2 separate regions of the Homo sapiens genome follow, and region 2 is linked to region 1. Evidence: promoter capture Hi-C in 16 types of primary human blood cells and fetal thymus (Javierre and others, 2016). All regions are on one chromosome and are shown on one strand. Each heading gives the region's core, a stretch centred on a gene start or on the middle of the fragment in contact. The rest is flanking DNA. Distances are from core to core; before and after follow the strand shown.

What was found. The method cuts DNA at HindIII sites, captures the fragments that hold promoters and counts their contacts. A CHiCAGO score of 5 or more calls a contact.
Region 2: a contact is called between a fragment that was not itself captured here and the fragment with the promoter of PSMB1 in region 1, in 6 of 17 cell types (M0 macrophages, total CD4 T cells, M1 macrophages and 3 more). The highest score is 11.7, in M0 macrophages.

What each region holds. Positions count from the first base shown.
Region 1 is chr6:170,548,837-170,554,677 of GRCh38, forward strand. It overlaps PSMB1 (proteasome 20S subunit beta 1), which reads right to left and starts at 4,471. Exons shown (of 6, transcript NM_002793.4): 1 at 4,294-4,471; 2 at 170-277. The coding sequence starts at 4,406. It overlaps TBP (TATA-box binding protein), which reads left to right and starts at 5,533. Exons shown (of 8, transcript NM_003194.5): 1 at 5,533-5,627. RefSeq lists enhancers at 4,224-4,603, 5,414-5,803. The HindIII fragment of the contact is 7,721 bases long and covers 1-5,841 here.
Region 2 is chr6:168,953,376-168,959,176 of GRCh38, forward strand. LOC105378146 (a long non-coding RNA gene) reads right to left here. Exons shown (of 4, transcript NR_136250.1): 2 at 4,365-4,484. Among named protein-coding and RNA genes, the nearest start is that of LINC01615, 210 kb to the right of the region's middle. The HindIII fragment of the contact is 851 bases long and covers 2,876-3,726 here.

The DNA of each region.
Region 1 (5,841 bases), core at 3,221-5,720:
CTGCACATTAAATTATTAGGAAACATTAACTTAGAAAATGGTTTTCTAATAAAAATGCTCCCAACAGCAACTTAAAAACTCATGAAACAAATCATTTAGAAGTAGAAACTCTCACAACATCAAATCATTACAAAGGCATTGTGAAATGTCTTTAGAAATATTTACTTACAATTTGTAACATTTGGGGCTATCCCGCGTATGAATTGAAAACCCTTCACTCAATCGAGTATCAGAAGCAACAATTGCAAAATCTTCTCCAGCAATTGCCAGTATAGTACTGAGGAAAAAAGAAAAAAATTAATTCTCCAGGGTGGTAATCCTATCCCTACAAATAGAAGAATGCTCCATAGTACATAATGGGATAAAATACTCTAGATGTCAACAAAAACATGATTCAAATGGGAAGAGGAAAGATGAGCGGGAAGAGAATGAACGCCTGGCTACGAGTTGTCTGGGAAAAAAAAATTATTAATAAGCCTAAATCAGGGCAAAGTCTCCTTGGCAGGAGTTAACAGAAAAGCCAATGAATTATCATCACCAACACATTAAATACTTACTCGCGCAAGGTACTACTAATACAGAACAACTAAATACCACATCTGTGCCCTTGAGGATCAGGTATAGACAGTGGTACTACAACGCAAGCTCTATGAGTTTAGAGAAGATGAGATTTTTTTTTCTTGCTTCATTTCTTTATATCCAAGTCCTTATATAACGCCTATATAATGCTTATTTCTTTATACCCAATCCCTTATATAATGACAAATAGATGGACAAACAGTAAATTTTTCCCTCTGTGGCTGTACAATTTGACAGCTTATCAAAGAGACTTACAGTAGAATTCCAAAAGCAGACCGCCTGGGTTCTAATTCTGGCTTTCCCGTTTCGCAGATATGAGACTGTGGGTAAGTTACTTCTCAAAGCGTCAATTTCATCATATATACAACAGAGATCACTGCAGTTGCTACCTCATTAGGGTGTTCAAAGGATCAAATATGTAAGCCCTTATAGCAGTCCCTGACATGTAACTGGTCCTCTAGTAAGTGTTAGCTATAAGTGCTATGGCACTGGAGTATGACTAAGCACCTGGGCTCTGGAATTACATGAGACAGAGACCCACTCTTGCTACTTACTAGGTATGTGATCTTGGACAAATCCTCCAAATGCAAGTTGATGATAACAGTACCTGTGTCACAAGGTGTGTATATATATTTGGGTGTGTATATTTTAATGTACAAGGCTTGACTGATAACTATAACCACTGCTTCAATGCAATAGTGGAAATTAAAGGCATGGTGCCTCACAGACGTAAGCACTCAGGAAACTTAAGCCACTATTTTTACTGAGGAGGGATTTGTGCTAAAGCTCTCAAGAAGAAAAGGATGGCATTCCAGGTAATATAAACAGCAAGCAATGGCAAACAGGTAATTATTCAAATAGTACATACATTCAAGCAACTCATTCAGGCAGCCCTTTTTGCATAAGCACATGTAGTGACGTTAAGGTTTATGTGATGGACAGGGTTCCTACTGTAGAAAATCCCAAATGCCAAGCTAAAGATTTTGGAATTTTAGCAAGAAATCATGAAGGTATTCTGAGCAAGAATGATCTGTAGTTGTAACTACTCAAGAGGCTGAGGTGGGAGGACTGCTTGAGCCCAGGTGTTCAAGGCTGCAGTGAGCTATGATCGTGCCTGGGCATTAGAGTGAGACCTGGTCTTTAAAAAAGGAATGCAAGAGAGAGAAAAGTTCCATTTACAAAGTGGGGTTTTAGGAAGACTGCTCTGACAATAACATAGTATGTGAAATGGGACAGAAACACTGTTCTAATACTACTAATGCAATAGTAAGGTAGCAGGGTGAACAGTAAATCCAAAATCATCACAAACACACAAAATAGACAAATTTTTATATCTACGCAAATGTTTTAGGAACTGGGAAAACCAATTATGACATCCAAGATTTAGAACTTAGATGAACAGAATGATGGCATAATTATAAGTATTTTAAAGGAGAGGAGGCCGGGCACGGTGGCTCACACCTGTAATCCCAACACTTTGGGAGGCTGAGGGGGGGGGGGGGGGTCAATTGCCTGAGATCAGGAGTTCGAGACCAGCCTGGCCAACATGGTGAAACCCATCTCTACTAAAAATACAAAAATTAGCCAGGCGTGGTGGCAGGCACCTGTAATCCCAGCTACTCGGGAGGCTGAGGCAGAAATGCGTGAACCCAGGAGTTGGAGGTTGCAGTGAGCTGAGATCGCACCGCTGCACTCCGGCCTGGGTGACAGAGTGAGACTCTGTCTCAAAAAATAAGAAGAAAGGAGAAGAGGAGATGAAGGGGAATAATTAGCTTGCTTTTTGTTTTGCTAGCTGTCTTGAGTTGCCCTGAGAGCAGAAAAACCAGTTAAAAATGTTTTACTGAAGAAGCCGAATCGAGGGACTCATGAGAGGCAGAACTGGAAAACCAGATTTGGGAGTAATCCTCCCAGCAATGAGACATGAAAGAGTGCTGAGCGATAAACAAGGCGGCTAATGACTTAACTACATTTAAAGACAGAGTAGGAAAAGAGAATGAGGCCTCATTTTGCGGAAGCGAAGGCTGCCTGAGAGCCAGCTGCAGTAAACACTAAAGAAAAAGAACAATGACTGAGAAAAAGTAATCAGAAAGATCTAAGTAATTTTTAGGGCAGTAATGGCTTAAACTGGATTACAAGGGATTAAAAAGTGAGTAACGAGTAGGGCATACTGAACACTGAAAATTCTTATTTATAGAGAATAGCCTTACGAAACGGGTCCAATAACCCTCCCTACAATATACAACTTAATTAGTCATCACAGGAAGTGTTAAGGTGTATAATGGAAAAGCATCCATAAACTCAGTGGTGAAATAGCTATGAATTAAGTCCTGGCTCAACTTCACACCAGCTCTCTGACCCTGACAGTTTAACGTCTAATATAACCCTAGGATGCTAATATCATCTAACATTCACTTTTCATGAGGATTAAATAAGATGACAGCTTGCAATTTACAAAATGCATCTCTCTTGATTCTCACCAAAAACTATGAAGCTACTAAGGAAGATAAGGAAATTTAGGTTCAAGAAGTTCAGAAGTACCCAAAGTGTCCTTTAGTGGCAGAACCAAGGCTAAAATCAGACTTTCGTTATCTTTCTAACACACTCCCAAAATGTGCATTTATATTTCAAATTTATGAGGAACCAATTAACATTTTTGCTTTGTTTTTAAAATTTATTTTTGTAGAGATGGGGTCTTGCTATGCTGCGCAGGCTGGTCTTCAACTCCTGGCCTCAAGCGATGATCCTCCTGCCTTGGCTTCCCAAAGTCCTGGGATTACAGGTGCGAGCCACACTGCCCAGCCAATATTTTCTGTTTTAAGAACCATCGGTTCGTTCAAATTGCGTGTGTATATTTTAATGTACAAGGCTTGATTGGTAACTATAACCACTGTTTCAATTTACAGCTCTTCCCTGTCAAGAGTCTTAAACAGAGCATCTTTCTATAACCCTAAATCTCTGGCGTGCCACCACGGAAAATTATACTACTCAAGATAAAGCTGGTAATTAAAATAAAAACCAAAACTTGAACATAACATACAAGAACACACATACTAAAAGGTCCATCTTCTGAGTATTTTGTTTTCCTGAACTTAAGCTAAACGTTAAAAAAAAAAAGCACTTATCTATGAAACTAAGTTTGCTCAGCCAATCCCACCTTCTATTTGAAATAAAACAAAATGATTAAACTGCTACAATTAGAAATAACAGAAATCAGGCGGCTACAATTAGACATCTCGGCTACCAACCCAGCTATGCATCTAACAACACAGACCAAACAACCCTAACTTTTAAGTTTCAGACGCTAACCCTCTACCCTCGCCGGCTGGCATAAGAAACGTGTACATGAGGTCCAGTTTTAATGGTCTTCCACAGAGCAGAGGCTATGTTTCAATTTCTACTTTACTGTCTTACAGCAGCAAGGAGCACGGAGTGGCGGTCCACATAAAAACTCAAATGACATGACTGTAATGGGAAACCCTAAAAACCAAGGCTGTATCGCAATCACCAAGTAAACTTGAGCAAAGCGAGCCTGAAGAGGGAAACACAGGGCATGAGAGGACGGCAGGGAGACCGGCCTTGTGCGGACCCCCTCAGCTCAGGGTTCTGAGGCCTGCAGGAGCCCGGGGCAGCGCCATCACGGCGGTGACTCCTAAATAGGCTTCAGCAGATGGGGGAAGGGCGAAAGTGAAAGCCGCAGCTCTCTGGGGTTTTTACCCTCCGTTGAAAACGTAGGGCGAAAATCGCAGCTGCAAAGGGCCCGCGGCTCTGTGCGGTTCCATCCCCAAGTCTCTGCCAGGAGCCGAATACATGGCTGTAGAGGACAACATCGCACGGCTGCGCCTGCGGATCCGACACTTGCTGTCTCACGGCGAGATGGCTGCCTTGACCGGACGTTACGCCACTTCCGGCTTCTCCTGAAGTTCGCTCCCGGCCTCTCTATCTCACGCTAGTCGTTGCTCCTGGAGGGCTGCACGGCGGCTTGTCCCTTTGGTAGTTGAATCCCGCCCATTCCAAAAAGCGCTGACAGGGATGTAAAGGGTTTTTTTTGTTTGTTTTTTGTTTTTTTCCCCCTCGAAGAAAACATTGGAATTCACCCCAATGGACAAAAATTTAAGTCTGACCATACAAAAAAATTGTCAGAACTATGGCGCAACGGCAACTCGAATAACGGTGGGAACGTTAATTGTCCTGGCTAATAAAAAATGTATATAACATTTCCTATCCTTAAAGAGCTCACAACCTCACTGATAATAAAAAGTACAAAGAAAACAAGCAGTATAACATATGATTACGCCACAATGAACTACAGAAGGGAAAATCAAGGCGTGCTGAAGTCCCACTAAGAAACAACTGCGGAAAGAGCCATGTGACAACAGTGCATGAACTGGGAGTGGCAGAACTGAATATAAATGCATGTGTAAACACAAGCTGTTTGTTTTGCTTAGTGTTCCTTGTCATTCTACACGCTTGAAGATCAGCTAGCGTTCTTGCTGACAGGTAAGGAGGACGCGCTTACTGAGTGCCAAGCACTGCTCAGGCACTGATTCTGTCAATCTCTGTCAATCTCCCGACAGCCCAAGGGTAAGCACTGTTATCATTATTCAATTTTACAGAAAAAAAATGCGGGGGAGAGGTCAGGTAACTTGTCGAAGGTAACGCCGCTAGTTGCTTTAAACAACAACAACAACAACAACAAAACACACTCACACATATACACACACACGCCATTTAAAAATCGATCTTTCCTACGTCCAGCAAGGGCCAATTAGAGATGGCTGTGGCACGGCGGCCCCGCCCCGGAACTCCTCAAGAGCTTCGCCCCTCCTTACCTATGGAAACACAGGAAGTGACCTATGCTCACACTTCTCATGGCCTCGGCCCTAGTGGGAGCAACTCGCTGAAGCCGAGGGCAGAACTGGCGGAAGTGACATTATCAACGCGCGCCAGGGGTTCAGTGAGGTCGGGCAGGTTCGCTGTGGCGGGCGCCTGGGCCGCCGGCTGTTTAACTTCGCTTCCGCTGGCCCATAGTGATCTTTGCAGTGACCCAGGTAACAGATTGTACTCTTTTCTGACGGTTCGGGCGAAGGCCACCACTGCACTGAGGCCTGGGGGCAATGGTGGGGAAGAGACTAGGAATTGGCGCGCGTGCAGGCCCCTCGGGGGACGTTCCTCCCTTTCGTGCTGCCGCCGTTCCGGCCTGTAACGGCCACTCGGCCGCCACTCCCGCCTGGTGCCCTACTCTGCTGTGTTTCGCAGGCAGCT
Region 2 (5,801 bases), core at 2,051-4,550, 1.6 Mb before region 1:
GCAACTGTCAGTTTGATTTCTGCCACTGTAAAATGGTTTTCATTTTCCAGAATTTCATGTAAATGGAGTCTTGCAGTGCATGCTCTTTCTTACTTTTAACCTGGCTGCTTTAATTTCACCTGACAATTTTGGGTGCATCGTCCACTCATTGCGTCCCCCAGTAGTTTGTTCCTTTTTATGGCTGAGTCGTTGCCCGTTGCATGAGCACAGCACAATTTATCTACCCATTTACCTGCTAATAGACATTTATATTATTTTCTATATTATTTAATATATATATTTAATATATTATTTAATATATTATTTTTATATTAAAAATAAAAAATGATATGAGCATTTGTATCCAAAAATTTGGGTCTCAAATGTATTAATTCTAGGAGTAGAATATCTGAGTCATATGGTAGGTGAATGTTTAATGTTTTATAAATTGACCACACTGTTTTCCAAAACGGTTTACATTCTCAGCCGAAGTGTATAAGAGTTGAAATTGCTCTGCATCCTCACCAGCGTTTGCTATGGTCATACTTTTAAATATTAGATATTCTCACACGAGTGCAATGGTATTGCTCTTATGGTTTTAACCTCCTTTTCCCTAAAGACTAGTACTGTTGAGCATCTTTTCCGTTGCTGATTTGCCATTTGTGCATCTTTTCTTCTTGTTGTTGTTGTTGTTGAAATATCCATTAAAATATTTGTCCAACTCAGTCCACAAATGTACTGAGTTGTTTGTTTTCTTACCATTGTGTTATAAATTATTTATATATTCAGAACAAAAGCTCTTTTTCAGATATTTATTTTGCAAATACTTCCTTTCAGTCTATTAAATAATTTTAATGATGTCTTTTGAAGAATAAAAGATTATAATTTTCATTTTTTTAAATTTATAATGTATAATTTCTTGTGTCCTCTTTAAGAAAACTTTGCCAAACAGAAGATCACTAATCTTATGTCCTATTTTTATTCCATAAATGCTATTAACTAATTATTATTGGCATTTATAGAAAATTCCTCCAGACAGCAGCAAAGTATATCTTTAAATTGAAATATTTCCCAAGATAGCTGATAGTCTGTGCCATAGACTAAACCTTAAACATGAAAAAAGAGTAGAAAACAAGCAAAGTATGTTCTGAAACCATAATGAAATTAACTGAAAATAAACAAAAATATATCTGGAAAATCTCTGAATATATGGCAAATAAACAACACACTTCTAAATGAATGATGGGTCAAAACTGAAGTCTTACACTAAACTAAAAATATTTTGAATCAAAAATTAAAATACAATATATCAAAATTATCAGGATGCAGCTAAGCAGTGCTTTGAGGGAAATGTAGAGTACTAAGTGCTTGTAATAGAAATCAGGAAACACCTAAAATCAGTAATATTACAAACATCTCTATGCCCAAAAGGAAACAACTTACATGAAAATTAAAAATGTTTCTACCTGTAATAATGAACATTTGGAATTTGAATTTTAAAAAAAATGTCATTTGCACAACATGGCTGGGCCTGGAGGACATGATTCTATGTGAAATAACCCAGACACAGAAAGAAAACAATTGAATGATCTCACTTATATGTGAGATATTTTTTTAAAAACCCTCAAACACACAGAGACAGAGTGTGTAACAGTGTTTCCATGGGTGGGGGTTGCAAGAGGACATGGGGGGATGTAGGTCAAAGGGATCAAAATATCATAGAAGGTAGGTGGGACAACAGTTCCGGAGACTGGATGCACAACGTGAGGGCCAAACTTCATAAAATTATACCATGTTAAGGATTTTTGTTAAATAAGTAGATTTTAGCTGCCTTTGTCACAAAAAATATGTGAGATAATAGATATGTTAATCTGTTTCACCACTGTAACCATTTTACCATCTATATTTCATAGCATCATGTTGTAAACCTCAAATATACACAATACTATTTAAAAGGCACTAAATCGTACTAAAATAAATGAAGCATTAGGTATAAATATAACAAAATAGGTGCAGCGTCTGTATGCTGAAAACTACAAAACACTGATGAAAGAAGGAAGAAATATCTAAGTAAATGAAGAAATATGCAGTTTCATGGATTTGAGGCTTAATATTTCAAAGATGTCCATTCTCCCATTTTCCCTGATTTGAGCAATGCAATCTCAATAAAATTCCAGCAAGTCTACTTTGTAAATAACAACAAGCTGAATCAAAATTCATGTAGAAAGGCAAAGAAACTATAATAATCACAAAAATTCTGCAAGAAAAACAAAACAAAATTCTGGAAAATGAACAAAACAACAAAAGTAAAGTACTCACATAACTTGATTTTAAGACACTATAACGTGACAGTAAACAATAAAATGTGGCATTGGCACTGGGATAGGCAATCAATGGAACAAAAGTAAGAATAGAGAAATTGACTCAGACATATATTGACAAGTGACTTTTGGCATAGGTACAAGTCATGTTAGGAAAGAAAGAGAATCCTTTCAGTTAATTGTGTTGGAACATTTGATATGCAAATGTCCCAAATAGGACCAATATATACCTTTTCCATATACAAACATTAATTCATAGTGGATTATAGATTTGAATGTAAAATGCAAAACCATACAACTTCTAGAAAAAAAACATAACAGAAAAGCTGCATGGCTTTGGTTTTGGTGGTGAGTTTTAAGATACAGTACCAAAAGCATGCTCAATGAAAGAAGAATTTTTAAAATTTGACTTTAACAAAATTTAAAGTGTTTGCTTTGCAAACGACCTGTAAATATGGTAAAAAAGCAAGCCACAGACTTGGAGCTATTACTTGCAAATTTCATATTTGATAAAGTACTTATATCCAGAATTTTTTCTCTCTCTCCCTATTACCCTCAAGTACTACTAAAGTTAAAGCTTAAAATAAAATTGACAACACCAAATGTCGATAGGCATGTGAAACCACAAGAATTCCCATTGCTGGTGGGAATACAAAAGTAGTATTCTACTTGGACGTCCACACCCCCTGGATCACAGATTGCCCATTTCTTATAAAGATAAACATACAATCATCTCATGGCCCACAAAGTCCTGTCCTAGATGTTTATCTAAGTGAATGGAAAACTGTGTTCACACAAAAAACAATTTGCAGATGTCTATAACAGTTTTATTCATAACACCTCAAACTGGAAACAACCAAGTTGTCCTTCAACACGAGTGGAGAAACAGACTGTGGTGTGTTCACACGACGTAAGGCTACTCAACAGTGAAAGGAGTGAGTAACCGACTCACAGGATGTAGATGAATCTTAACTGCATTTTGGTAAGTGAAAAAGGCAGCACCCAAAGGCTGCATATTACATGTTCCACTTATATAACATCCTGGAGGAGGCAAAAATGTAGGAACGGAAAAGGGGGCAGGGCTTCTAAGGGTTTGGGGATGGGTTGATGAGTGATGGAACTGTTCTGTGTGGTAGTGGGTGGAAGATTTTTGACTGCATTTCTGTGTTGTGGAAAGACATGGAAAAGCTAAAAAGTCAAATTTATCGTATGCAAAGTAAATAAAAACTCAACTAGGATTTGAGGAAATCTCAAACTAGAAGGATGACTGTGACAAATGAATCTAACTGATTACAAATGATGACACAACTCAGAAATGTTGCTCCAGAATCAGAGAAGAGAAGTGTGAATCTGGTGGGGAACTCAGCCGGGCAGGCTGGGAGCTGTCAGGCCAGCCACTTGGTGGTGCCAGAGGACCTCCAATAGAAGCTTGCACATGATTTTACATAATTTACCCAGACAGCAAAGAAGGCTCAGCCACTGCACTCAATCAATACCAGTGAGGACACTGCCACACTTGCTGAACACAACCCTGGAGCACGTCTACAGGTCAACAGCATGACACCGATAAAACTGAAAAATGGAAAAAGCACAGGAGCCCGAGCCTCTACACACAGAACCTGGGCCCCTTTTTGAATTTCATATGACTACACTGTATAATGAGTTTTGACTGTGTCCTGGTCATTGTTTAATTTTTCTCAGAATTTACTTGGAGTTTTACTGGTTGGAGATTTATGGACTGTATGGTAGAGAAAGCAAACATATAAATAAGCATAATTATGCTGGCTCCCAATGTAAAGAATGAATTCATTGTTCTAGTTTTGCTGGAGTTGTCACTGAAGAGCTCTGAAAGAAGCCTTCTGCCTGCTCAGAACCTTGAGGCATCCAGTGGCACCACAGAGCTAAAGCCATCCAAAGCATCTGGCGTAGCTTCCCTGGTAAAGATGTCACACTAGTCTCATGAGTCCACACTCCCTGAGAGCCCTATAAACTCTCACCATGTGAAACTATCACAGGTTCGCCATTATGCAAAGTATTTACCCCAAAATTTCAACTTTATCTTACTTCAGGCAGACATAGAAGAGGTACTTCCAAAGGTTCATGCAGTGTACTTAGGCTCATGGTCAATCAGCGCAGGCTGCCTTTTCTCCATGGCTCCGAAGCAGCTTCCACTAGACCTAAGACCTGGAAATGTTGTCTTATAAGAAAAGATGAAAAGAAAAAACATGCCCTAGATTCACATGGAAGGAAGACCATACTTTGCTTTTGGCCACTAGTCCACAATTAACCTGAGAGTTATGTCACCCAGGTACAACACCTGGTCCCCTGTCCCGTCAGAAACATTTACAGCAAAGATAGTCAGGAATGTACCAGAGCAGATGATGTTCTGGAGAACCCAAATTACGCAGATGAAGACAACTTATTTCAAAAGAAAGAGAAAATTGTGAGAAGTGAAGTTTCCGCCAATACCCACTGCAAGTGTGCCAGATGACTGGCTCTAGAGTGTCATCCTCGAATCTGGGGGCTTTCCTTCCCTGTTTTCCTGGGCATTTTCTTGGCATGTTGCCTACGTATGGTTCTTTTCTGTTAACAGGCACCTGCTGCCTCTCAGCAATGGTGTCTATAATGTTCCTCCCCCTACTATTATGAGCCACTAGCTCATCCCTAGTGGCTTCTTGTCATGAGTCTAATTTCTGGTTTGATATTCTCACAATGGGGCTCATTCTGACAATCAGAATCACTCCTAGGCTTGGTCTCACTGTCTCTGTGCGATAGCCAGACTCTTGGTATCAGTGTCTTGTGACATATACGTTGGTTTTCTGTGTAATTTTACTCAAACATGAAGTGACATTTTGCATGAAACTCTAATATTTGTTTCAAGGCATTCCTATAACTCAGTTTATCAAGACAGTTTGTTTATCTGTGCAAACTTCTCTCTATCAGGACAACATGTTGCTAATCTGAGCAAAAAGTTCATTTACCAAGTAGCAATGTTCTTGTGAAGGCTCACTTCGAAACTCTTGTCTTCTGTCCACAAACCTTACAAGATCACACCACAGGCTTTACCCAATCCTAATCAATTTTCATCTTAAAAGAATCACCGAAACCTACCATTTATTCTAACAAACTTGATAATCCACACTTCATCCTGATAAAAACGTTAATTCAGGAAATTCTTCTGGCACAGACTGGGGTCTCCGTATCTTTCTCCCTCCAATCATGATCCCGGCTCTTCCGGGATCCCATCTCTGTTGGTGAGGAGTCACTGGGGCTCTGGGAGCCCTGGAAAGACTTGGGACTTTAAAAGCTGAAGATTCTTAAGAAGCTACAATGTATATTATTTGTTGTTTTATTTTATTGACTGGTTCTCATAGCATACATATGTATGAAAAACTAGTACTTATCTCTTTTTTATCTTTCTAAGAAGTCTTTGCAAAAAAGAATTATGTGCTGGTTGTGTGTGTCTGTGTGTGTGTGTACACCGGTGTATGTGTGTAATGG